Regions from separate parts of the Homo sapiens genome. Here all the other regions are linked to region 1. The links are contacts of gene promoters, found by promoter capture Hi-C in blood cells and fetal thymus (Javierre and others, 2016). All regions are on one chromosome and are shown on one strand. The core of a region is centred on a gene start or on the middle of the fragment in contact, and the rest is flanking DNA. Distances in the headings are between cores, read along the strand shown.

Region 1 (3,711 bases), core at 351-2,850:
GGACTCAAGTCTTATTAAAGAACCGTTGGTAAAGGGGAAGTAAAACAAACAAACAAACAAACAAAACCAACTCCTTCCTTTAATGTACAAAAGGAAAATTCCAACCAATTCACAAACCAGTTGGGAGCTTAAAAAGCTACATGTTAAAAGCTGGATCTGCACAGCAACCCTCTTCCCTTCGTGCCTGCTCTGGAGTAGCAGAGTCAGAAAACAAAGTTGATATCCACCACAGAACTGTGGGGAAGATAAGATCAATGAAGAGATATATCTAAATAATAAGGCTTATAGGCAGTTAGCAATCAGAAACCGAAAGGTCTTGATAGAGAGGGAACAGAAGTTTCTCCATGTTCCAAAGAATATTGGTGTCTCAATTTGAAGGAACCCATATATTCTCTTTCAAAACTGGGGTGTTTATCTTGCTCTGCTGTGTTATCCCTGTTTTGACCTTTCTGCACAAATGAACACTACATTTAAGCCAAAATTGGACAGTAATCACCAGGATATGCTAATATGCTTTTAAAATGAATTCTTTCATTTTCTCCTAAAGTAGCTAAAAACTAATTTAGTGGTTAAAAACAACAAGAAACAAACAAAAACCAAACCAGTTGCCCCAGGTCTGTGCAATCCTGAAGGCTATAAAGCTCCCATCTCATAATTTCTTCATGAAAATCGTGGGTGACCAACATCTGCCAGCCAAAAAGACCCGTTAAAACCAAGAGAGGAAGAGGGGGTTGGAGGAAAAAAAGACAAGCGGGAGAGAAGCTGGGTGGCGCTGGCTGTCCTCCAAAATGATTTGTGGAAAAGGTACAATAATGACTGGAAGACAAGAACAGGCAATAAAAATGTCTAGAAGTTCTAAATTTTCCTGAAGTGTTTAAAACTCTATTCCCACATACAAGCCAAGTGCTCTACTCCCAGGAATATAACAGCAGCATAGGGCGGGGTGCGGAGCCACAGGCTATCTCAGGGCGGGTCAAACCCGCAAGTTTCTCAGGTTTGCCCAAAAGGTAGCTCGACATGCCCTCGCTAGAGATGGGGAGACTCCAATTCTCATTCCTCATTCTCGTGTCCAGGAGCTTTCTGAAGGCCCCAGGGCCTGATAGAAAGAAAGAGAAGGAAAAAGTGGAAAGGAACCAAAGGAACCATAATCCGTAGAAACTTCCAAAAGCATGCACACACAGACACACAGCGATACACTGTTGTCCTGGAAACCAATCCAACCAACTAACCCCTCCTCGGGAGCCTAGGGGCCAGCTCTTTTGGGCAAGGGTGGTGGGCCGGAGGAATAGGGACTGGGAGAAAGGGGTACTATTTCGCGCGGCTCCGCTCTGGGCCTCTTTTCCCTGGGCGCCTACCGAGTAGAGGAGCACGACAGCGCTGGGACTGGTTGGGCCAACGGAGAAATAAGAGTTAGATGAACTGGAAGACTCCATGGTGCGGCTGCCTTCCCGGGCGGGGTCTGGGATTCTTTGCTAAGCCGTGGTGGTGCTCCTGCTGGGGGCGGTTCTTTCGCTCAGGACGGCCCTACTTCGCCTAGGGCGGCGGCACCCTCTGCAGCCGCTACACAGGATCCCGGGCGCCGCCATCTCAGCCAGGACGGAAGCCGCGCAGGGCCCTGCAGCGCATGCGCGCAGTCGCGGAACCCGGAAGCGGGGGTGCAGCGCGGCAGAATGAGGGTTGATTCCTCGGCTGACCCCACAATGTCGCAGGAGCAAGGGCCGGGGTCCTCCACGCCTCCCAGTTCTCCGACACTTCTTGACGCTCTGCTCCAGAACCTTTACGACTTTGGTGAGTGCGGGGTCCCAGGAGCCCACGTGGAGAACAGATTTGAGGAACGTGGGTCTCCTGTGTTGCCCGTCCTGGGTTGGCCTCTGCTTTGAGGCTAAAGGTTCTTGCATGTCAAGCACCCTTCGTCCCACCTGGTTCCAGTAGCGAACACATTTCTCCATCGGAAGTCACCCCTCGACCGGGCTCTGCTGAGTTATTCATCAAACCTTCCAACTCGTCCCCAAGTGTGGGGACCATCCTACTTGCTTGTAGGAAGCACCAAGGCTTTCCGATTTAAAAGTAGCCCGCTTTTCCACGTTTTCTTGAGCCCTGGGAAGTCCCCTTTCCCCATGCCACCCCCAAGACCTGCCTGACCCTGGTGCGATGGTGTCATTTCGCTCTGGGGCCTCGGGCCTGTTGGATAATACACCAGCTTCATCCTTGTGTGTCCCTCTCCAGAGACATCATAGTCCTTGGCGAGTTGTCCTTTTCACGACTTTTTTTTTTTTAAACAAGTGCGCTGATCTTTTACTCTCCGTTCTTTGTCTTGATGGGGGAAAAGGAAAATAAAAGAGCCTATTAAAGTCGCATGGCATGTCAGTAGGAAGACAGTGCCTCATACTCTGAAGAGCTTTCCCGGGAGAAGGTGACACCCTTTGCACATGCACCAAAGAAAATCATTAGATTTCAGGACAACACACATTTCTTAAATTTACAGCGTGATATTTTAAAAGCTATTTTTATTTTGGAATGACTGCTCAAAATTCTAAGTTCACCTAAACAGTAGGAATAATAGTTAAAACTGTTGAGAACTTGCCATATAGCACATGCTTTTCGTGTATTTGCTCATTTAATTTTCAACTTCATGAAATAGACACTGTCATAAATCCATGATTGCAGATGTAGAAACAAGTACTAGAAGTTCATGAAACCTGATGCAGGTTGTCTGACTGGTAATTTTTGCAGAGCCTGGGTTCTGATTCTAGCCCCAGACCCCATGCTTGTATTAACTAGCATTTCTGTGCCCTTGGACATATTGGAGGACAGAGAAGACTTAGTCTCTGACCTTGAGAAGTTTAAAATCTAGAGGAAAAGACTATTCTGCAAAATAATATAGTTCATGTCAACACAGGCTGGAAATCATGGTAGGAGCTCTGAAGGCATTGAATGTGTCTATTCATTTTTATATCCTTAATGCCAAAGTTTAGTTGGCTCTTAAATGTTTATTGTATAAAAGATTAAGCAAATAGTAGCAAGCATAAATCAGCAGCTGGTAATTTAGAGAGCTCTGTGGTATTTGTAATACATGTGAGTAAGGATGCCTAGGATTCTGGTTAGAACTTTCAGGTGACTGGTCAGAGCTTCAACAAGTGAAATATAGAAAGAGGAATTAATAGAAAACAAAGGCATTCAAATTGAGCCAGTTGTCTTAGGTTCATCTTAATTCCTAACTGTGAAAGAAAATAGGAAGACTATTCCATGTTCCTGTAACCCAGAAAGTGTTAAAAAGAAACAGTGGCTGCAGTGCCTGATATTTTTAGTATAAAGCCAATTGGGATTACCAGCCCTGGGGACTATTGCTGTGATGACACTTTGAGTAGGAACCAAAGTGGAGACTAAAGTGATTGTGCTAATAAGGGTCAAAGACATAGTTACCTAGGAAAAGATGACTACATTTTGGATTCTCTGCATTTTGCAAATACACTTATTTGAAAGAAAACAAATAGTTTATTTCTTTGTGTGTGCTTCTAGGTGCATATAGCCCTGGAATATGTACAAATACATTCGTAGGATTTGATACTGATGATAGCTAAGACTGAAAATATTTATTTTCCTTCTTGTGTTTGAACAAACAGGAGGTACAGAAGGTGAAACAGAACAGAAGAAGATCATAAAGAAAAGGGAAAACAAGAAGAGAGATGTGATGGCTTCAGCGGCCTTGGC
Region 2 (3,711 bases), core at 820-3,319, 440 kb after region 1:
ATGTCTCAAGAGCGTTCCCAAGCTTCATGTGCACAGGAATCAGTGGGGTCCTGTGAAAGACGACTTCCATTCAGCAGGTCTGGGGCAGGGCCTGGCACTCTGCATTTCCAACGCTCTCTCCTAAGTGATGCCTATGCTGCTGCTGGCCCATGGACCTCCCTGTGAGCAGATGGGTCCACTGGGATCCTCTGGGGAGAGGGTGATTGAAACCCCCTGGAATCCTTCTCCCATACCTCTGACACTCAGACCCATGGTCTCCCACCCCCGTCATTGCTACAATGGCCCCGGTAACTGGCCAGTTTTGTACTTATTGGAGTCTGGGGGAGTGTCATGGGAACCACGGGACAACATGAGCAAGGGAGAGTGAGCAAACTGGCAGCTGGAAGGCAGGCAGGCTAAGTTACCCAAATGACAGAAGGAAGAGAAGGACAAGAAGGCAGAGTCTGCTCACTCACTCAAGTCAAGGTGATTAATCTCTCTATGCCTCAGTTTCCACCCTGCAAAATGGGGATACTATTGGTACTTAGCTCACAGAATTATTGTAATGGCTTAATTGATTACTTGATAAATAGTATCTCAAAAATATTAGCTATTTTGTTATAATCACTCCCACAGCTAGATGTCAGCCCTTGCATGAAATCAAGCATTCGGCAAACATCTATGCAGCGTGGACTCTGCTGGGCCCCAGCTGGGTCCCTGAGCAGAGGGTCTGGATTGGCCATACCTCATTTATATTGAGATGAATGAACTCCTTGTTCTTTGTACTGAGAGCCTGGAACACCCCTGATAGGAGAGAAGGGGGAAAGGCATCCTTTTAAAGACAATTCCTTTACCAAGTTTGTTTCCCAGCGACCAAAGGGCCTTCCAGTGGAGCCTGTGGGGAAGCTGCTCCATCTGGTGGTAAACAAGGACTTTCATCAAGGGCGGCGATGGGACTCTCATCAAGGGCGGGCTGAAGGTGAACTTCTCTGAACGGATGGAGGCATCCAGTCCTGTAGCAAGCCAGTGGTCACCTAAGCCAGTCAGCCGGCCAGCAGCTCCTGGAGCCAAAGCAACGCCCCTATCTTAACCTTCTGGGGGGTACAGGGCCCTTGAAATCCATAGGCCCCAGAAAAAAAGCACACGCACGTAAAGTTTTGCATGAATCTGAAAGTTGTTAGTCTCGCCCTTGTAGGAAGGTGCCGTGGGTGCTGTCAGAGGACAGAGTGGCACAGGAGAGCGTGCCAGCACTGAGCTGGGGGCTGGGTCTACCGCATGGTGTAGTGACCTGAGTGCACCTGAGCAAGTCACTGCCCTCTTGGGGCCTCAGCCTCCTCACCTTCAGAAGACGAGGTCGAGCCAATCAGCCCTGGCTTCACTTGAGAATCTCTCGGGTAGCTTTAATAATACAACCCAAAGCGGGGTGGGGGACCATCACTGGACACAAGAAATGGAAGAGACCCAACAACCAAACATGGTGACTGGGTCTTGTGTGGATCCTGAGTCAACCAAGCAACTGTAAAAAGGTGGCCTGGAAGACTTGGGCATGAACCGGGCACTAGAGAATGTTGAGGGTTTGCTGAGAATTTCGTTAGGTGTGCAAATGGTATGAAGATGATGCTAAAAACAAGTCTATCAGCTGGAGATACTCAGATGAATGGACAGAGTTTCTGAGATCTGCTATTAAATTATTTAGGGGGAAAATGTATGTGTTGCGGGAGCACAAGGGAAAAGTTAGCAAGATGGTAATTGTTGAGGTTGGGTGTAAAGGTCTGGAAACACCTGGCGAATTTGCGTAACTCCCAATGCTGTGTGCCACCCCTGAGATTCTAACAGAATTGGTCAACTGTGCAGCCTGGTCATCAGCATTTCTTTAGGCACCCCTGGAGATTGTAATGTACAGCGAAGTTTGAGAAGTGCTGATGTGGAGTGCATGGGAACCTATTATGATTCTTTATATCTAACTGGAGGGTTGACATTCTTACAATAAAAAGTTAAAATAATACTGCAGCAAAGCTCCATCCTTGGTAATTCTAAAAGTTCTCCAGGCAAATCTAATGTGAGGATGCCAGAGTGGATGGTGTTAAGCCTAAAGGGTCTTCACCCTAATATTCCTCTACTATAAGAAAAGCTGAGGCACTCCCACCCCCCGTTCTGGGAAGGATTACACCTGGGTGGTTTAGAAAGGGAAAGAGCAATGGAGAGAAGAGAAACTAGCAAATCTCATTATTTCTAGGGTCAGCTCTGACCACCCTGTAAGTCTAATAACGGATTCTGTTTCAGGAGGGGTCTTTCTAGAATGCACCTCTCACTAGCTACCAGTAACCCCTTAGGGAAAGCCGGCTTCCTGGCTTGATATACTAGACCCTTTGGGGCCTGCTGGTCTGTCTCTGATTTTCTCTCATCATTCCTTAATCAACACATACTCATTGATTGTCCAGAAATTACGGCTCTCCTGGAGCTTAGAGTCTAGAGGGGCTGTGCTTCAGGCAAGTAATTAGTGTTCTATTACCAAAGAAGCAGAGGGAGCTATCATGCTGATAACCAAGGGTCACAGCCCTCACCTTTTTATTTTAATTTAATTTAATTTTATTATTTATTTATTTATTTATTTATTTATTTATTTATTTATTTATATTTTTGAGATGGAGTCTCCCACTGTTGCCCAGGCTGGAGTGCAGTGGCAAACCTCAGCTCACTGCAACCTCCACCTCCCAGGTTCAAGGGGTTCTCCTGCCTCAGCCTCCCGAGTAGCTGGGATTACAGGTGCATACCACCACATTTGACTAATTTTTTGTATTTTTAGTAGAGACAAAGTTTCGCTATGAGCTGGTCTCGAGCTCCTGACCTCACGATCCAACTGCCTCAACCTCCCAAAGTGCTGGGATTACAGGCGTGAGCCACTGTGCCCAGCCCCCTGCCTTTTTTTTTTTTTTAATCAAGTATTCATACCTCGAAGTGGCCTATGGAACATAGATTAGAAAATACCAAGCAGGACAAAATGGAAATGCGGGGCCCCCTGCTCCTAAGTTGTGAAGACTTTCAAGATGGAAACGCCAGAACATTAAACCAAGCACGAGGCACCCTTGAGGGCACGGGTCCTTTGGCACCTGCACACAGGGCATGTCCTCATAGCCACTCCAGTACTGAGTTACAGGCCCTGGACATGCTTCACTCAGCCTCACCTTCAAAACCACCTTTGAGGGGCAGGATGGCTATGACAATAAACTGCAAACACTGAAGCGCACGGGCACATAATCCCTCTCTATTTGTGGTGTAACAAATCTTATTTGAGATAACTGGGTCAATGTCTAGGGCTTACAGGGCGGGGAAGGGGGGAGGAAGGGGGACTGAGACTCTCCTGTTTCTATATGCTATGATGGGATTTGACCTGCAATTGAACCTTTCCTCAAACACAAGGCACAAACCTGCCCCAGCCCATCATCCTCCCACAGAGGCACTGTGAATGTATAAAGAAAGGCGATGCTAAGAAACGTGCTGCAGGGGAGGCTGGCACATTCTGCTCCTTAGCTAACCGCACAGGCCCATGGGTCCACACACATCAGACCATGGCTCTCTGTGGTCTATCTTTGCCATTACTTTAACCAGGCTGTTTCTCATGCGCTCATGGAGGGTGACTGAAGATGCCACCCCGAGGTGCACCCTCAGCCTCGCTGGACACTTACGGCTCGCATTCTCCAGCCGGACCAGGCAGTTGAGGAAGTCATCGAA
Region 3 (3,711 bases), core at 347-2,846, 430 kb after region 1:
GTAAGAGGAAGCATTAGGGCTGAGGGGGATTCTGGCTAAACCAACCCAACAGGATTCTTGCTGAAGGCAGGCCAGGGTGATCAGACATCACCTGGCAAATGGTGGAAGACGAGGAACCTGATCAGATATCGATGGCGATCAGATATTGAGTGTGGACAATCTAGTTAAACTGACTTAGCAGGGTTCTTGCTAAAACTGGACAATGCAGACATGAACATGGAAGTCCGAAAGTTGTGTCCATTTAAAAATTTATGTTTGCAAGAGCTTCCAGAACCATGTTGTAAAAATCATAGACAAACATGAAACCGGGAAGCTTTCAAAACCCAGGATTCAGAGAACACTGACAACTCTTTGCAGGAGGTTGCAAATTCAACCTCAGAGATGTCTGGAAAAATATTCTACTCAAGCTTGGTCTTGATTTCCAAAGATCTACAAATCTAGTGAAGTTCTTGCTGAAGTGAAAATAGCCACCAGCCAACTGAAGCTAGAGGTTGAAGCAAAGGAAGTTTGAAGGCTGATGGCTCCTCAGTCTCAGAAACCACCCTGTGATGAGCACACCCACCAGTGATGAACACGCCCACCTTCATGAACAAAGGGAGGCGTGAGCTCTCTGGACAGTCCTGATCAAGGGGCCATGATAAGAAGTCAAAGGCATGAGAAAACAGTGATAGTGATTTTTAAGGAAATGGATTTCAATTTAAAAGTAATCAGAACAAAGTTACAGTTTTAGTTGTACAGAAAAATTGAACAGCAAGCAGAGACGGGTCTCATATATCCCATTTTCCCCCTCTCTTCCTCCACAGTTTCTCCTATCACTAACACACACACACTCATGCAAGCGCGCGCACACACACACACACACACACACACACATATTAACACTGATGTGGTATATTTATTGCAATTGATGAACCAATATTGACACATTACTATCAACTGAAATCCATCATTTACATTTGAGTTCACTCTTTGTGTTGTACAGTTCCAAAAGAACCTTCTGATTTTTGTGGAAAAATGCAGAAGTTAATTTAGAGAAAAAAAACTTTATAGTTAGAAAAAATGGCTAAGGTGATTGACTACTCATTAATCTGAATTACATATTCTTTAGAAAGATTTATTCTGTGCAGCGTGTAAGTATAAAATTTGCATTACCTCTGGTCTTTCCTATAAGAGTTGTATCAAGAATTTCATCATTACAATTAATTGCATGCATATATACTTTTCTATGGGAAATAACTTTTTACTAAAAACACATTACATGTTACCTCTAGACAACCTATAGTCATGGCACAAATTGCATCTTTGCTTTCTCAGATTCCAAAAGTCTTTGTGTAACCACTGTCCTCAGCAATTGTCACCATTACTTGGCCCAGTGCCATTGTGCAAGGGAAGGAAGGTTTTGTCTTGGCTCAGTGGTAGAAGGACTAACACACTCTCTTCCCACATGGAGACATACTAGAGAGGATATTCTGGCCTCCCTGCAGCCTCAAGTTCTCTCTTCCCTGGGTGAATAGCTACTCCACAGATCTGTATCTACATGGAGAGGTCATGCATGTGTTCTATGCACTTTCAGCACCACCTAGGTACAGAGTTTGTCAGTCTTAGGTGCTAACCTCTCAGCTCCACACTCACCCACATATACTCTGCACTGTAGCACTGAGGCTGGTTCTATGCAAAACCCATTTCTGTTTTATAGCTGCTCTTTGTGAGGCCATGACAGTAAGAGGCTTAAAAGGAGACTGAGAGGCTTGAGGAGGAAGAGGAGACTTGCTCCTTCTTGTCTGCCTTCTGTCCACTTACTGTTGCTATGAGCATCACCCTGAATTCTCCACCCCAGCAGCAGTAGAAACTTCCTATAGCTGCAGCAAAAGCCAGTTTGCAGTTTTTCTAACCCTTGTAGAGCCAGCCTAAAGGCACTCTCTTCAGAGCTGCCACATTGCCCTCAGGACTAACCCATTCTCCACAATCCAGATTTAAGCAGCACTTCGGAGGAGTTTGCCCAGTAATGTATACATCTGATTCTTTGTTCAGCATCTGGCTATTGCTATTTGTGCATTGACTCCACTGGTCAGAACCAAAGACAGCAGGAGAGGTAAGTGCAGCCAAATTCATCTAGCCTCACAGTGACCTTCCTATAATCCATACTGCCAAGTGAGGTATCTGCAAACTACAGATACTTTGCCAACTGGCTTACTGTTAGGTACCGTGAATAGGAGAGAGGGCCTGGGAGAAAATCAGAACACAGAAAGAAGAGAGAATCTTCTATTTCTGGTTTGACAGTGGGGTAGTTTCTGGCAGTTGTAACACCAGCAAGAACAGGGTAACACCTGAGCAAAAGTAAGATTGATCTAGACTCTTGGATCCTGGACAAAGGTAGTATCTTTTTGACAATTTCCAATCTCTGTGGCACCTTCAACCATGCAGCAGTACAAACTCAGGAGCACCACTCTCTTTTGTGTATGGAACAGACATGAATATTACAGGGGGGAGGGAGCCTGAGGGTGAACTGTGTAAGGCCTACTAATGGCCCCCTAAATTATTCATGCCCTAATCCCACTGTGAGTGCATTATGTTATCTGGAAAAAAGGGATTTTGATATGTAATTAAGGTTATAGACCTTAAAATAGGCAGATTTTCTGAATTTCTGAATTTTCCGGGTGAGTCCAGTTGTGGGGAAAATGAAAACTACTAAAATGCTGCTGTGGTCCCACCTAACAAAACTTAAAAGCAAGGCTCAAAAGGATCAAACTAATTTCAAATAACTGTGTCCCTGAACAAAGCTTGATGATATTTATAGGAATACAAAATATCCAGCAACCATTGTCTGGCATTCAATCACAAATCACCAGTCATGCAAACAAGCAGGAAAACACAACCCATAATGAAGGGGAAAATCAGTCAGTTGAAACTGACCCAGAACTGACACAGACAATATATTTAGTAGACAAAGACATGAAAATGGTTATTACAACTGTATTCCATGTGTTCAAGAAGCTAGAAAAAAGATTGAACGTGTTAAGTTAAGAAATGGAAGAGATAGGCTTGTGTGGTGGCTCATGCCTATAATCCCTCCCTTTGGGAGGCCGAGGCAGGTGGATCACCTGAGGTCAGGAGATTGAGACCAGCCTGGCCAACATGTTGAAACCTTGTCTCTACTAAAAATACAAAAATTAGCTAAGCGTGGTGCATGCCTGTAATCTCAGCTACTTGGGAGGCTGAGGCAGGAGAATTGCTTGAACCTGGGAGGCAGAGGTTGCAGTGAGCTGACTGCACTCCAGCCTGGGCAATAGAGAGAGACTCCATCTCAAAAAAAAAAAAAAAAAAAAAAAAAAAAAAAAAAAAGAAAAAGAAAAAGAAAAAGAAAAAGAAGAAGAAAAAAGTAATGGAAGAGATTGAAAGACCCAAATTGAACTTCTAGAGATGAAAACCACAAGGGCTTAGATAAAAGATACAGAAAATGTGATTAATGGAGGAGTAGACATTAGAGATAAAATTTAGTAAATCTGAAGACAAACTAGCCTATCAAACACAGAAGGAAAAAAGACTGAAAAATAAATGAAGAGAGCATGTTAGCTATGGAATAACTTCAAGTGGCCTAATATACATGTAATTAAATTGCCCAAAGCAGAAAGCAGAAGCAGGGGAACAAAAATATTTGAATGAATAATGACAGAGCATTTTCCAAATTTAATGAAAACATGAAAACTATAA
Region 4 (3,711 bases), core at 531-3,030, 390 kb after region 1:
AGGGGAGCTCCTGTATTGGCATTGACTGGCAGATTATGGCTTGGCGTTCTTTTCCCAGATTACCTCATTTAATCCTTACAACAGCCCTGCAAGGGAAGTATCATTTTGCTTTTACAAATGAGAAAACTGAGGCTCAAAAAGGCTGAGTCATCTTCCCATGGCCACACAGCTAATCATTGTTCAGGGCTGAGTCTGTGCCTGATTCTGCTGAGACCATCAAGCCCTCATCCACTCCTACTCATCTCATCTGTCTGAGTCCATTGGGGGGCCTCACCGGCATTCCCTGTTGTCTGTTTGGCTGGGGAGGGGAGTGTCTGGCAGCCTCAGCGGGAAAGATGAGGGAGCAATCTGATCAAGACGGTCAGCGCATTATATTGAGAGTGTCAAAGCATCAGGCTTGTTTAGAGCCAGGAGTTGGGATTATTCCTAAGTTTTGGTTCCCCCACGGTCCTGGGTGGATATTTGCATGGGGTATGTCTGGGTTTGAATTTCAGACTTATTCTCGATTTTTTATTTCAGGATCTAACTTGGCAAGATGAGCACTCTGCCCCTTTCTCCTGGGAAACAAAGGTAAGTTGGATTAAATTTAGATCTATTTGTTCTTTTAAAAAGAACTGAGTAGTTGTATATTTTTCTTTCAGCATTTGATGGACTCAGAAGACAGCCCCCTGACTGCCAGGCTGCAGGGGATGTGTCCATTGTTGGTAGAAAAGGAGGGGATGGGAGGAGCATGGTGAGGAATTAGGAAACTATTGTGTGTGGTTTGGTGATAGTGAGTTCAAAGTAGTAGTGCTTTCTGCCAGGGTCCAATGACGCCCCATGATGCCCATTGTCTAGGACTCCCGGCCAGCTTGGTTAAGGGGGCCAGCCCTCTTGGGGGCCCTGTCTCTGCTCATACCTCTGGTTCCCAGCACTTAGCACCTTGATGGGAGATGCCCCATAAGACAAAGCTTTGAGCAAATGGGAGGTGACGAGCTGATTGATAGACATAGACATCCATTTAGCTAATTCATCCCAACGTGGATCACTAATTCTGTCTCCCAGTCATTCTTCTTCTCATCATTATCATCATCATCACCAGAGTTGCTTAAGAGCATCAAGCTTCACTGATTTTAATTCATTTTCCCCATCTCCTAAGTTGCCCCAGTAGAAGTACATTCATAAGCAAAATGACTAAAAGACAGGTGTCTTTAACCCAAGGGACAGAAATAAAAGACCAAGATTTTCTGAATTCTGGAACATTTGGTGATGTGTGTTGGAGGGTTCTTTACGTCATGAGAGTGTGTTACAGACAGAGACGGTGGTGAGCCTGGAATAGGGCTCGGACTGCTGGGCAGATCAGGGTTTTTAAATACTGATACCTCAAGGCACTTGTTTTTTGGTTTTTCACTTGTCCACATCATTGCTGATCAGAGCCCTCATCCCAGCAGGAGACCTATGAGGAGGGTGGGCCAGAGTGGTTCATGAAGGACCCTGAGAGGCCCTCATGTTGGCGACTGTGTCTTAAAATGAAATATTGCCCAAGGGTTCAGATGGACACAAGGACAGCTGACACTGTTCTTGGCACACAGACAGTATTTAGTAAGCTATTGCCGATTGCCCTGGGTGAAGTGAGCTGGCCTCAGGGCGTGGGAGCGTGGGACAATTGAGATGAGTGTTAGAGTTAAGAGGTGGTTTTGGGGAAGGCATGGCATTAATGTAGTCTCCCTAGGGATCGGGTACGGGTTGCAGGGGTGACCAGCACTGTCTTGGGAGAGAGCACAAGATGTTAAGGAGCCGCCTGCAATTGGAATAGCTTCTAAATCCAACACTGGATCCTGTGTCTACTGACATTGCAAAGGAAGTCATAAGTGGGTAAAAAGTGCATCATTACATTGATTCTTAGCCAGGGCCCTCAATATTCCTCTTCTATGGGCTCCCAAAATGGGTAATTGTGAGAAGTACTAATCCTATAGATGATATCTAGTGGTAATAGCCAGATAGATTCTCTGTGTGTTGGAAATGAGCAGCCTTGGGTATGGTGACCCAGAAAGCAGTGCAGATTTTCCTGGACTGGGTCTATATTTGAAGATATCATAGTGATAAAGGCAAAGGAAAGTAAAAAATAGTTAAAGTGTCCTAAGACCTAAGCTCATCATGTTCCCCACGAGAACATCTGTTCTCTTAAGAATTTAGCTTGTTAAATGTTCCTGAATCAGCTATTTGTGGGACAGGACATTTCATCTTTTATTAACTTGGCATAAATGACATTCTGGGACAAGGTGGTGCAGCTCCTGGAGTGGCCACTGATACAAGCACAGCTGCTGGGGCCAGAGTGGGAAACAGGTGCCTGGCGAAGATCTCGAGAAAAAAGAGAGCAAGTACAGTCCACTTGAATCACACTTGTGCTGAGAGGCTCATTGTCCACAGATGCCAGCATATCTGGTCCCTTAGGAACCAGTGTAAGTTGAGGAAGCTTGCTAAAATCTGGTTAATATGTGTCACCCATCAGAAATTGCATCCTTTTAGTAAAGTGTAGTCTTCATAGCTCAGAGTTGGCAGTTTCATTTCATACTCCTGTTAGATTAGAGTTCCAGTTTGTTTCACAAACTGTTGGGCTCACTCTGTGTCCTCACCTTCCTGTTTGATCTCTCGAGGTCAGACTTACTATAGTTTACTATTAGAAACGTCTAGGGGCAAAATAGAGCGTATCTCAGAGAGCAAGGGAGCTGTCCCTTCCTCCTTCTTCACTAGGCAGTGCCGAGTTTTAAAAAGCCCATCACTCATTCCTCCTTTGTCTTAACCCTGGAGTGCCCTGCCATCCTGCTTGAAGAGATTTGCCAAACTCTTCTTAGGACTTAAAGGCTTATAAGATCTTCATTGGAGAGCCACAAACAGGAGGTGGCTTTAGTGAAGGTAGGACCCCCTAATCTCCAATTGCAGGACTGGAGGGAGACTTGGACCCCATTTCTTGTTACCTCTCAACTGATGCCTTCCTCACTCTATCAGTTCTCTATAGATGCATAACAAACTTAATGGCTTGAAGCAGCATTTTATGTGCTCATGATTGTGTGGGTCAATGATCGGAGCAGGGCTCAGCTGGACTGTTCTTCCGTTGGCCTTGCCTGGGATCACTTATGTGTCATCTGATCGCCTGATGGGAGCTGGGTGCTCTGAGAACCTTGCTCACGTGTCTGGTTGGTGCTGGCTGTTAGCTGGGCCACATGTCTCCAGCAAGCCAGCCTGGACTTCTTCACACAGAGGTGGAGAGATCCGTGTGCGGGAACGGAAGCCTACGAGGACTCTTTTGAAGCTTAGGCTGGGCAATTGCATAGTATCACTTCTGCTCTGTTCTGCTGGTCAAATCAAGGCACAAGCTGGGCCAGATTCAATGTTTGAGGAAAGAGATTGCACCTCTTGATAGAAGAGCTGCAGAGAGTTTGCACCCATTTTAAATCTAAGATTGTATGATGTCATTCATTCCTTGGTTAACCTTGGCCATTTCTTTCCATTTTTAATTAATCACTCATTGATTTTTTTAAGTTTTATTTTTAATTGTGGCAAAATACACACAACATAAAATTTTCCATCTTAATCATGTTTATGTGTATAGTCTGGTGGCATTCAGTACATTCACATTTTTGTGTAAACATCACCATCATCCATCTCGAGAACTCTTTTTAAAAATTATTACTTTTTAATTGACAAATGAAAAATTGTGTATATTTATGA
Region 5 (3,711 bases), core at 791-3,290, 380 kb before region 1:
ATCTTTACCTCCCAGTGATTAGCCTCCGCTAGAGATGTGATACTCAAAATGCGTTTACATGGTCAAACAGCCAAAGCCATTAAGGAAGGGTACATTAATTTTACTCTGCCTAAAGACCTACCACTCAATGGTTTAAACCTGTTTCTGCCAGTTTACCACATGTAATATAGGAACAGCTAATCCCCCTGACTCAGAATCTCTCCAGTCAGAGATTTATTCACAATTCAATAGTTCACTGTGGGAGGACTGCTCCTCCCCTGGCTGCTCGGTTTTGAATAAGTAGACTTTGTTCTCTATCCGTGTCTACATTTACTCCAACTTCCACCGAGGAAGAGACACTCGCCCCCCTCTCACTGTTTATCACCTCGGCCATATCACCTATCATTCCTAGGTGATAGGCACCAGCCCTCTCTTTCCATCTTTCACATTGATTGTCACATGTGACCCTTGACACGTAACACTTTGTTACTCTCACAGCTCTCATATACAGGGGGACAACATGAGTGGCCATAATAATAGGTGGCAACCTTATTATCATTAGAAAGCTCAGCAATTTCAAGCCTCTTTTTCTGATTTTTAATCTTCTGGCCAACCTCTCTTCATTGGTTTTCTGACCCAATCCTCTCACAGCTGATTTTTATGTTGTCTGATCAGTATAAATTCCTGGCTTGTGTCTTCTTAATGAGAGAGAGGGGACCTCCCTGTCCCCCAAAACTGATGCACATTGCAACCATCAGAAGCTTTTAAATGCCCCAATTCAACAGCCATATTAGAAGATCTCAGGAGGCTCTGCAGGCAGTTTCAAAGACAGCGTCTGTAAGTGGACCACTGTCCAAAGTCAGGAGTTCATCTCATTAATGAAGTGCTTGACGTTAAGCCACTCACCTTTTTCCCATCTCGTCCATGTTCCTCATGTGTTACACAGTGAGTAAAGTAATCGTGTGCTTTAATCTTCTCTTGCAGATGCTGTTAATGGTGAGGTCTCTGTAAGGCTATTCCAGGGGAAGAAAGGTTCATGCCATTCAGCTAATTTGAAATTTGAATTCAAGAATTGATTAGGGGTTCTTTCTCCAATTAAATGTGTGTGTTTGGGGATACATCACTTAATTTTCTAGCTTCCTTCTTTGAAAACAAAGGGGAAACCAGATGAGTGGCTTTTAAACTTTTGTTTCATGGCTGGTTGCTAAAAATTTAAGAAAAAACAAGAAGGTGAGATATATAATGACACTAACATTTTATTTTGCCAAGTAAATTTACTTTTTTTTTTTTTTAAGATAGAGTTTTGCTCTTTTTTGCCCAGGCTGGAGTGCAATGGCTCAATCTCGGCTCACTGCAACCTCTACCTCCTGAGTTCAAGCAATTTTCCTGCTTCAGCCTCCCGAGTAGCTGGGACTACAGGCACACGCCACCATCCCCAGCTAATTTTGTATTTTTAGTAGAGACAGGGTTTCACCATGTTGGCCAGGCTGGTCTTGAACTCCTGACCTCGGGTGATCTGCCTGCCTGAGCCTCCCAAAGCGCTGGGATTACAGGCGTGAGCCACCGCACCCAGCCATACATTTCTTTAAAAAAAAAAAACTTCTACCAACTACCATCGCCACTATTTCATATAGAAAAGCCTTCTTTTAACCTCAAAAAAATAATACATATGTGATAGAAGCTAGGACAGTTCCTTAAAAACAGTGAATTTTGCTTTCTCAAAAGCTCATTTATCCTGGTTTTTCCTTTCTTTTTTATTTTGTCCTGGCTGGTGAAACTTCCATAGTAGGTAGAACCAGTCCCCAGCTGTGGTCTTAGGGACCAAGTAATGAGACAGCCCCTGAGCTGAGGAAGCCAGAGAACTTCTCTTTTCGGTGTGATGCAGAGTTTGCAAAAATAAGCTCATGAATATTATTAAGCTTTATGTTATGAGAATGTTTACCCGTTTTCAAGTATAAACCTGTTTGTAAGATTTTGAATTTCAGATTTGGCCTTTCAGAGGACAAAACTGGAACATAGGCATAAGAACTAAACTACCAGTAGCCACAGAGGCACTCACCAAATATTTCTGAGTTGCTGGCATCCAGACACATAGTGGGAATGCCTTCCCAACCTCTCTGAAGCTGAGGATGGCCATGTGACTGGCTTTGGTCAGGGAAATGTGAGCAGAGGAGATATGCTTCCCATCTGGGCGGAAGCTTTAGAAGCCAGTGCTTGATTCATCACTCTTTTTCTGCCTCTATAGTATAAAAGTCTTCAGATGGAGCTTCTGTCAGCCTTGATCCCAAGAGCCTCTGTGAGTAGGATCTTGCCTGTAAACTTCTATAAAACATAAAACATGAACAAGAGAAAAGGAAGCATACATTGAATTAAGCTACTGAGACGTAGGTATCTTTGTTGCCACCGGATAACCTATCTCATCTTGATTAGTCTACCAAAGTTCTCTCAGTTCTGAAAGCCTGTACATGAATGGCCACACGATGTCTCAGATCGTAAGTTGTGGAACTGGAGCTGCTTTCACCAACAATACTGTCGTCAACAGCACTCACGTTCTTCAATCATGCTGCCTCCCCCAAATCCTAACTAAAGTGGTTCTAATATTGAGCAAGGCATTATTCCAGAAATGAAATCCAAGGCTTGGCAATAGTCAGAGCACATGAGGGCAGGATCATGACAACATGGGGAAGAGAAGATTTCACATGGTAGAGCACTCCTTGGGGGATTTCCTTGCTCTAGGTTGGAATCAGAAGGTTAAAAGACTTCCAATCTGGTTTCAAAATGTTTTATGGGACTTAAAGAAATCTTAAAGGGGAAGAGGAGACTTTTCTTTCATTCATCAGGCATCTGGGACTATGGATACAATGGCTGGAGCTCTAGACGCCATCTTGAACCTTGAAGACAAAGCCACAGCTTAGTAATGGCAAAGCAGATAACTGGAATTAGTCTGGTTCCATGACAACTTTGTGGGGTTGCCATATCCCTGCTGGATTGCCTTCCTTTAGATTTCCTTTATGGGACAGAGAAAAATTGTTACCTTGTTTATGCCACCATTAGTTGTTTTTTCTTATATGAAGCCAAGCCTAAATCTAACATTATATACCATTTTTTTTTCATTATTTGAAAGATACTGTTTATCTCATTCTTTTAAAAATTTTTGGCTTTTTGGATTTTTACAATTTAAAATAATGTATATAATTTATTTTAAAAGAAATATGAGGGCTGGGCATGGTGGCTCATGCCTGTAATCTCAGCACTTTGGGAGGCCGAGGTGGGTGGATCACCTGAGGTCCAGAGTTCGAGACCAGCCTGGCCAACATAGTGAAACCCCGTCTCTACTAAAAATACAAAAATTAGCTGGACGTGGTGGCAGACACCTGTAATCCCAGCTACTAGGAAGGCTGTGGCAGGAGAATTGCTTGAACCCGCGAGGCGGAGGTTGCAGTGAGCCAAGATCGTGCCACTGCACTCCAGCCTGGCAACAAGAGCAAAACTCTGTCAAAAAAAAAAAGACAGAAAAGAAAAGAAAAGAAAAGAAAAGAAAAGAAAGAAAGAAAGAAAGAAAGAAAGAAAGAAAGAGAAAGAAAGAAAGAAAAGAAGAAAGAAAGAAAGAAAGAAAGAAAGAAAGAAAGAAAGAAAGAAAGAAAAGAAAGAATGTACTAAAGAGGCATATTCTTTTTATTAATGTGTGAACAGAGCATGGAGCCCACTGGTGTGAGGAACTGACCTTGGGGA
Region 6 (3,711 bases), core at 636-3,135, 350 kb after region 1:
CCAACTCCTGGCCTCAAGTGATCCTCTTGCCTCAGCCTCCCAAAGTGCTGGGATTACAGGTGTGAGCCACCACACCTGGCAAATACTTTATAATTTCTGAAGCCAACATATAAACAAATACAATAAAGGTTACCTAAATAAGTGCTTCTTTTTAGAAATAGCTTGGAGAAAATCATTCAATACCTCTTATTTATAGTTTTGTAATGTTCTTTTTAAATGCTTCTTACAATATCTTGAAAGTTAAGATCTTTCAAGGAAAGATTTTGAAAAGTGTCCTGGCCTGAAGTCTTCATGTTTTAGAAATCAAGTTTTTAAAACATCTTAAAAAGCTGTGTCTTTAGTACTGGGTGCAAAATTTAAACATTGCCTGCAATTCCGGAATAACAATAATCCTAACGATAGATATGATTGAAAAAGTTGGCCAGGTTCAAAAGAGAAACTTCTTCGGGGGAAAATGGCCATCCCATCGTTCTACATCAACCGCCGGTTTTTCTTTAGGGTGAAGTGAGAGGCTTGAGGGCAGGGAAGCATCCAAAGGGAATTTCTCAGTTGGTAATTTCCTAGCAGAGAGGTTGAGTTAGGTGCTTCTTCCTCGATATGGTTCGGATCTGTGACCCAGTCCAAATCTCATGTTGAGTTGTAACCCCCAGGGTTGGAGGTGGGTGGGGTCTGGTGAGCGGTGATTGGATCGTGGGGACCGTTTCCCATGGTCTAGCACCACCCTGCCTTGTTACTGACATCCGGTTGTTTGAAGATGCACGGCCCCCACACCCCCTTTCCTCTGCTTGCTACGGGTCTGGCCATGTGAAGTGCCTGCTCCCGCTTCACCTTCCATTACTTTCCTGAGGCCTTCCCAGCCATGCTTCCTGGGCAGCCTGCAGAACTGTGAGCCAATTCAACCTCTTTTCTTTATAAATTACCCAGACTCAGGCGTTTCTTTATAGCCTTTCGAGAATGGACTAATAAATACATCCCCTTACTTAGCCAGCACTTGAAGTTTCAAAAACGAGGATCAAGCCGTTCCTGGGAGCATCCTATGAGACATTTGGACACAGGTTTACTTGGAGTCTCGGAGATATGACGGAATCTGGAAAAGTCAAAGGAAAAAAAGCCAAGGTGAATCAGATAATTATGTTATTAAATCTCAGGAGAGATGACTAGTGTGTCAACACCAGGGCAGAGCTTCTAGAAGCTTCTAGAAGCCTTTCCCACCAGCTACCATCAGTTTCACTCAAACTGTTACCCACTCCCACGTCTACTGGTAGTGGAACCTGCTCTGGCGCTGCCTTCCACTCATTTCTACCTTAACCTCTGATCTGACCCCTCCCCACCCTCTGTCCATGGACCTAGCCTTCCCCTGGCTTCTGCTCTTTTCTGTCTGCTTTCTTGTTGACGTTTTTTTTTTTTTTTTTTGCTTCCCTGCTCTGGATTGCTTGATCTCAGGCTCGATTCGGAAAGAAGTGATACGTAATAAGACAAAGTGATAATGATTTTAAAAGAGCTATATCAAAGTTGCTGTGGGAAAGCCAAAAGGACCCAATTATTTCCACCTGAGGTGGATAGCTGTGCGGCAGTTATGTATGCGGCGGCTATGCCGAGGAGGTGTGGAGAGTATGGGACCGCAGAGGCGGAGTAGAAATGTGCCAGGTAGCCAAGGACCTTCCCAGCAGAGGCAAAGTTGGGAGGAAATGTTCAGAGAGATGAACGTGCCTAGTGTGCTTGGGATGGCTTGCAGATGCAGCTGGAAAGGAAGTGAGGGGCAGAGGGGCGGGTCTTGCCATCATCCTCAGGAATTTGGACTTCATTCTCTGTATGTAGACTGTAAAGCATGGGAATGATTTGACTAGAATTAGAAAGATCATTTGCCATCAACACCAAGGATGGCTTAAAAGAGGGCAGGTTTTGCTCCTGCCCCTGACGTGGTTCCTCTCTGCAGCCTTAGCCCTCTCATGCCTCAGTCCCATCCTTAACTGCGACCACATTCCGTGGTTGTCCTGGGTCTCTCTCTCTCTTTTTTTTTTTTGAGACAGAGTCTCGCTCTTGTTGCCCAGGCTGGAGTGCAGTGGCGTGATCTCGGCTGACTGCAAACTCCACCTCCCGGGTTCAAGTAATTCTCCTGCCTCAGCCTCCCAAGTAGCTGGGATTACAGGCTCCCGCCATCATGCCCCGCTAATTTTTTGTATTTTTAGCAGAGACGGGGTTTTACCATGTTGGCCTGGATGGTCTCAAACTCCTGACCTCAGGTGATCCACCCTCCTCGGCCTCCCAAAGTGCTGGGATTACAGGCGTGAGCCACCGCACCCGGCCAGGTCTCTCTTGTTTTAGTTCTTTCACTGACTGTATCTGTTCTCGTGGTTTCAACCATCATCTCTGCACCATTTCTAGTGCTAGCTTCCCTGCCAACTCTAGTCTTGCATTTCCAGTTGGCTACAAATCCTCTGTACCTGCATGGATCATCAGCCCCTCAAACTCAAATTGTGTGCAGCCAGACTCTTCAAATCCTTCCCCCAGAAATCAGTTCTTCCTCCTGACTCATTTCTGCTCCTTGTTTCACCATTCTCCAAGTTATCCAAGCTTAAAACTGGACAGCGGTGACCTCTTCCTTTTCTTTGACTCTTATCTTTAACCCATGCCCAAGCTCTGTCGAGTATTTCTTTGTGATATCTGACACCTGTATGTTCCCAGACCTACAACCACCATCCTACTTGAGACCTGTTCTTTCTTGTATAGAAGCAACAGCCTCTTACCTGGTCTCCTGTCTCTGGTAGCTCTCCTGGGTCATCCTATTTTGGTACAGTTTCTAAAAAACTGTTCTGATTATATAGTGCCATGTATAAGGTAATATTGAGCATAATGAAAATTACCCTTAAAAATCTCTTAAGGAAGGCTGGGCATGGTGGCTCATGCCTATAATCCCAGCATTTTGGGAGGCCAAGGTGGGCTGATCACTTGAGGTCAGGAGTTCAGGACCAGCCTGGCCAACATGGTGAAACCCCGTCTCTACTAAAAATACAACAACGACAACAAAAAGAAATCAGCTGGATGTGGTGGCACATGCTTGTAATCCCAGCTACTTGGGAGGCTGATGCAGGAGAGTCGCTTGAACCCAGGAGGTGGAGGCTGCAGTGAGCTGAGATCGTGCTATTGCACTCCAGCCTGGGAGACAGAGTGAGACTCTGTCTCAAAAAAAAAGAAAAAAAAAAGAAAGAAAAATCTCTTAAGAAGATGCTATATTAAAATCTAACAAACTATGTCTCCAGAAACCCCACAACAACAGAACGCATTTCGTAGCTGAGCACGGTGTCATGCACCTGTAGTCTGCGCTGCTCAGGAGGCTGAGGTGGGAGGACAGCTTGAGGTCAGGAGTTCCAGGCTGTAGTTCGCTATGTTTCGACCTATGAATAGCCACTGTGCTCCAGCATGGACAACATAGCAAGACCTCATCTCTAAGAAAAAACAAAAAGACACATTTCTTGTCTCTAGCAGGGGAATAGATTGTGCTTTGTTCTGTTAAATACCAGATAATGTAATTGACCTGCATTTGGAAGGCCTTTTTGGATAAAAGGTGTATTTTTAACACTCCCTCCATGCAAGGCAAACAAGAGCTGAAACCCACTAAGAGACTAACAGCAGATTTGTATGTCCTTACCCATGTTCACTTCAGGCGTGAGCTTATGTAAAGTTCTTCTGTCCCTCTCCTTTAAAAAACAA
Region 7 (3,711 bases), core at 655-3,154, 340 kb before region 1:
AATAGCTGCTAGAGTAATCTCACACACACCAATAAGGAACTGTCACCATAATTAAGGGCTAGTTACTGTTGTTAGTTGCACAATGATGAAGTTCTTTTGAAAATATTGGTTAGCCCACTTATATGTGAAAAATGCCCTTTCCACTTATACACAAGAAAAAAATATTCAGAAAGTTATTTTTGGCCTTGCTATGTCAAAAAGTCAAGTGTACAAAGATCTATGTGTTAAACCTAAAACTATAATTTTAAAAGTCTATTAAAAACAAAAATGTCATGCATTTTTATTATCAGTTATGCAGAGGCTTTAAAACTGTTGCAAGACCATACAGTATATATTAGCTTTTATACTGCCAATGCACAACTAACAGCTATAAAGTATTACTGATAAAAAATTAAGATTACCTAAGGAAAAAAACAGAAAATTATTTAGTGTGGCCATCTTACATGCTTAGGTCTCCTACACAAAGCTAAATATTCTAGCAGTGATGTAATGAAAAATTACATCTTACTGTTGATATATGTATGCTCTGGGACACAGATGTCATTTTGTTGTCACAGCACTACAGTGAAATACACAAAAAATGAAATTCATATAATGACTTAAATGTATTATATGTTAGAATTGACAACATAAACTAATTTTGCTTTGAAATGATGTATGCTTCAGTAAAATCATATTCAAATTAAAAAAAAATCCAACAGTCTTTCATGATAAAATGCTCAACTAACTAGGACCGGAAGGGAACTTCCTCAACCTGATAAAGGGTATCTATGAAAAACCCACAGATAACATCATAATTAAAAGACTAAAAGCTTTCTCCCTAAGATCAGGAACAAGACAAGGATGCCTGCTTTTGCCACTTCTGTTCAACATTGTACTGGAGGTTCTAGACAGAGCAATTAGGTTAGAGACAAAAATAAAAGGCATCAAGATTGGAAAGGAAGTAAAGCTATCTGTATTTGCAGATGACATGATTTTGTATGTAGTAAACCCTAAGGAATCTGCTTTAAAAAAAAAAAACTATTAGAATAGGCCAGGGGTGGTAGCTTACGCCTGTAATTCCAGGACTTTGGGAGGCCAAGGCAGGTGGATCACTTGAGGTCAGGAGTTCGAGACCAGCCTCGCCAAAATGGTGAAACTCTGTTTCTACTAAAAATACAAAAATAAGCTGGGTGTGGTGGCGTATGCCTGCAGTCCCAGCTACTTGGTGGGGCTGAGGCACGAGAATTGCTTGAATCAGGGAGGCGGAGGTTGCAGTGAGCCAAGATATCACCACTCCACTTCAGCCTGGGTAACGGAGTGAGACTCTGTCTCAAAAAAACACAAACAACAACAACAACAACAAAACTAGGCTGGGCACGGCGGCTCACGCCTGTAATCCCAGCACTTTGGGAGGCTGAGACTGGCAGATCACCTGAGGTTGGGAGTTCAAGACCAGCCTGACCAACATGGAGAAACCCCGTCTCTACTAAAAATACAAAAATTAGCCGGGCATGGTGGCACATGCCTGTAATCCCAGCTACTTGGGAGGCTGAGGCAGGAGAATCACTTGAACCTGGGAGGTGGAGGTTGCAGTGAGCCGAAATTGTGCCATTGCACTCCAGCCTGGGCAACAAGAGTGAGACTCCATCTCAAAAACAAACAAACAAACAAAAAACTATTAAAATAAACAAGAACACTGCCCATGAATGTTCACAGCATTATTCATAAGAGCCAAAAAAGTGGAAACAACCCAAATGTCCATCAACTGATGAATGAATAAAGAAAATGTGGTGTATCCATATGACAGAATATTACTCGGCAATAAAAAGAAATGAAGCACTGATACTCGCTGCAACATGGATGAACCTTGAAAACGTGCTAATTGAAAGAAGCATGCTAGTTGAAACATGCTCACTGAAAGAAACATGCTAGGCCGGGCACGGTGGCTCACGCCTGTAATCCCAGCACTTTGGGAGGCCGAGACGGGTGGATCACGAGGTCAGGAGATTGAGACCATCCTGGCTAACACGGTGAAACCCTGTCTCTACTAAAAAATAAAAAAACATTAGCCGGGCGCCGTGGTGGGCAGCTGTAGTCCCAGCTACTCGGAAGGCTGAGGCAGGAGAATGGCAGGAACCCAGTAATTGAAAGAATGGAATTTTATGATTCCATTACATGAAATGTCCATAACAGGCAAATATGTACATATAGAAAGTCGATTAGTTGTTGCCTAAGGCCACGGGGGTGGGGGGCGGTTAAGGGTAATTGAGAGTGGCAGGTAATGGATACTGGTGTCCAAATTTTGGTGGCATCAAAATTTCTCTATAAAAAGGACAACATACTCTCAACCATAGACCAGGAGAAGCTATCAGTAAAGAACTACAAAAAGGAGAGAAGGGGGAAAGAGCAGTTTGGAGAAAGACAATCTAATAGAAAAATGTCAAGAATATAAGGGCAAGTAATATATAGACAAAATCTGGGTGGCAAAAGTTTTCATTGTAAAGATATTCACTATTAGATTAAACCTCATTAAATTGCCAATACTTGATAGTTTTAGCTCACAAAAATGCGATCTCATATAGGTAAAATTAGTAGCAGTAGGAAAATTAAAAATTAAGCGATACTGTCAGCCAAATGTGGTGGCTCGAGTCCATAATTCCAACACTTTGGGAGGCCAAGGCGGGAGGATCACTTGACGTCACGAGTTCAAGACTAGCCTGGGCAACATGGTGAGACTTCATCTCTATAAAAAATAAGAAAATTAGCCAGGCACAGTGGCCTGTGCCTATAGTCCCAGCTACTAGGTAGGTAGAGGCAGGAGGATGGCTTGAGCCCAGGAGTCTGAGACTGCAGTGAGCTATGATCACACCACTGCGCTCCAGCCTGGGCAACAGAGCGAGACCCTGTTTCCCAAAAAAAAAAAAAAAACCATTAAAAATCCATTAGATTGACCATCAGGACTCACAAAATTATGTGGAAACATAAACTATTAGACAGTTGTAGAAGAAAGCTTAGATTGGTAAAAGCACTTTGGCAATATCTAATAAAGTGGAACATACGTATACCCCTAAGACCAAGCAACTTCACTCCTTCATAATCTTCCTAGAGAAATTCTTACATAGGTACACAAGGAGATAAGCCAAAGATATTGTATTACCCAGAGTTCTCCAGAGAAACAGAACCAGAACCAATAGAGAGAGAGAGAGAGAGAGAGAGAGAGAGAGTGTGTGTGTGTGTGTGTGTGTGTGTGTGTGTGTTTAATTATAAGGAATTGGCTCACAGGATTACAGAGGTTGAGAAGTCCCAAGATAGGCAGGTGGCAGGCTGGAGACCCAGGAGAACCATTGTTCAAGTCCAAAGGCCTGAGAACCAGAATAGCTGATGTTATTAATACTAAAAGCCACGAGGCTCCAGACCCAGGAGCTGATGTTTCAGTCTGAGTTTTTTTGTTTGTTTGTTTTTTGAGGCAGAGTTTTGCTCTTGTTGCCCAAGCTGGAGTACAATGGTGTGATCTTGGCTCACTGCAATTTCTGCCTCCCAGGTTCAGGTGATTCTCCTGCCTCAGCCTCCCAAAGTAGCTGGGATTACAGGTACCCGCCACCACGCCCAGCTATTTTTTGTATTTTTAGTAGAGATGGGGTTTCACCATGTTGGCCAGGCTGGTCTTGAATTCCTGACCTCAGGGGATCCACCTGCCTCAGCCTCCCAAAGTGTGGGGATTACAGGCAT

What was found. The method cuts DNA at HindIII sites, captures the fragments that hold promoters and counts their contacts. A CHiCAGO score of 5 or more calls a contact.
Region 2: a fragment that was not itself captured here is called in contact with the fragment with the promoter of GNPAT in region 1 in 1 of 17 cell types (erythroblasts); the score reaches 5.1 in erythroblasts.
Region 3: a contact is called between a fragment that was not itself captured here and the fragment with the promoter of GNPAT in region 1, in 1 of 17 cell types (erythroblasts). The highest score is 6.5, in erythroblasts.
Region 4: a contact is called between a fragment that was not itself captured here and the fragment with the promoter of GNPAT in region 1, in 3 of 17 cell types (non-activated CD4 T cells, endothelial precursors and erythroblasts). The highest score is 6.1, in non-activated CD4 T cells.
Region 5: a fragment that was not itself captured here is called in contact with the fragment with the promoter of GNPAT in region 1 in 3 of 17 cell types (non-activated CD4 T cells, naive CD4 T cells and activated CD4 T cells); the score reaches 6.1 in non-activated CD4 T cells.
Region 6: a fragment that was not itself captured here is called in contact with the fragment with the promoter of GNPAT in region 1 in 1 of 17 cell types (non-activated CD4 T cells); the score reaches 5.1 in non-activated CD4 T cells.
Region 7: a contact is called between a fragment that was not itself captured here and the fragment with the promoter of GNPAT in region 1, in 1 of 17 cell types (neutrophils). The highest score is 5.7, in neutrophils.

What each region holds. Positions count from the first base shown.
Region 1 is chr1:231,239,101-231,242,811 of GRCh38, reverse strand. GNPAT (glyceronephosphate O-acyltransferase) reads right to left here and starts at 1,600. Exons shown (of 16, transcript NM_014236.4): 1 at 1,356-1,600. The coding sequence starts at 1,433. It overlaps FSAF1 (40S small subunit processome assembly factor 1), which reads left to right and starts at 1,637. Exons shown (of 7, transcript NM_152379.4): 1 at 1,637-1,788; 2 at 3,624-3,711. The coding sequence starts at 1,671. RefSeq lists enhancers at 698-1,587, 1,568-1,907. The HindIII fragment of the contact is 8,993 bases long and covers 1-3,711 here.
Region 2 is chr1:230,795,234-230,798,944 of GRCh38, reverse strand. It overlaps CAPN9 (calpain 9), which reads right to left. Exons shown (of 20, transcript NM_006615.3): 18 at 3,666-3,711; 19 at 725-783. Among named protein-coding and RNA genes, the nearest start is that of CAPN9-AS1, 1.9 kb to the right of the region's middle. The HindIII fragment of the contact is 4,089 bases long and covers 25-3,711 here.
Region 3 is chr1:230,813,920-230,817,630 of GRCh38, reverse strand. No RefSeq gene overlaps it. Among named protein-coding and RNA genes, the nearest start is that of CAPN9-AS1, 21 kb to the right of the region's middle. The HindIII fragment of the contact is 2,373 bases long and covers 410-2,782 here.
Region 4 is chr1:230,852,527-230,856,237 of GRCh38, reverse strand. C1orf198 (chromosome 1 open reading frame 198) reads left to right here. Exons shown (of 4, transcript NM_032800.3): 2 at 520-570. Among named protein-coding and RNA genes, the nearest start is that of C1orf198, 14 kb to the left of the region's middle. RefSeq lists an enhancer at 1-996. The HindIII fragment of the contact is 1,354 bases long and covers 1,104-2,457 here.
Region 5 is chr1:231,615,234-231,618,944 of GRCh38, reverse strand. It overlaps TSNAX-DISC1 (TSNAX-DISC1 readthrough (NMD candidate)), which reads right to left. Exons shown (of 16, transcript NR_028393.1): 5 at 2,039-2,301. Among named protein-coding and RNA genes, the nearest start is that of LINC00582, 5.0 kb to the right of the region's middle. RefSeq lists a silencer at 796-996. The HindIII fragment of the contact is 279 bases long and covers 1,901-2,179 here.
Region 6 is chr1:230,886,902-230,890,612 of GRCh38, reverse strand. LOC124904547 (a long non-coding RNA gene) reads left to right here and starts at 133. Exons shown (of 3, transcript XR_007066938.1): 1 at 133-885; 2 at 985-1,116. It overlaps LOC105373167 (a long non-coding RNA gene), which reads right to left and starts at 1,213. Exons shown (of 4, transcript XR_949264.3): 1 at 981-1,213. RefSeq lists a silencer at 1,860-2,034. The HindIII fragment of the contact is 1,382 bases long and covers 1,195-2,576 here.
Region 7 is chr1:231,578,154-231,581,864 of GRCh38, reverse strand. The region is part of intron 4 of TSNAX-DISC1 (TSNAX-DISC1 readthrough (NMD candidate)); the gene reads right to left. Among named protein-coding and RNA genes, the nearest start is that of LINC00582, 32 kb to the left of the region's middle. The HindIII fragment of the contact is 2,180 bases long and covers 815-2,994 here.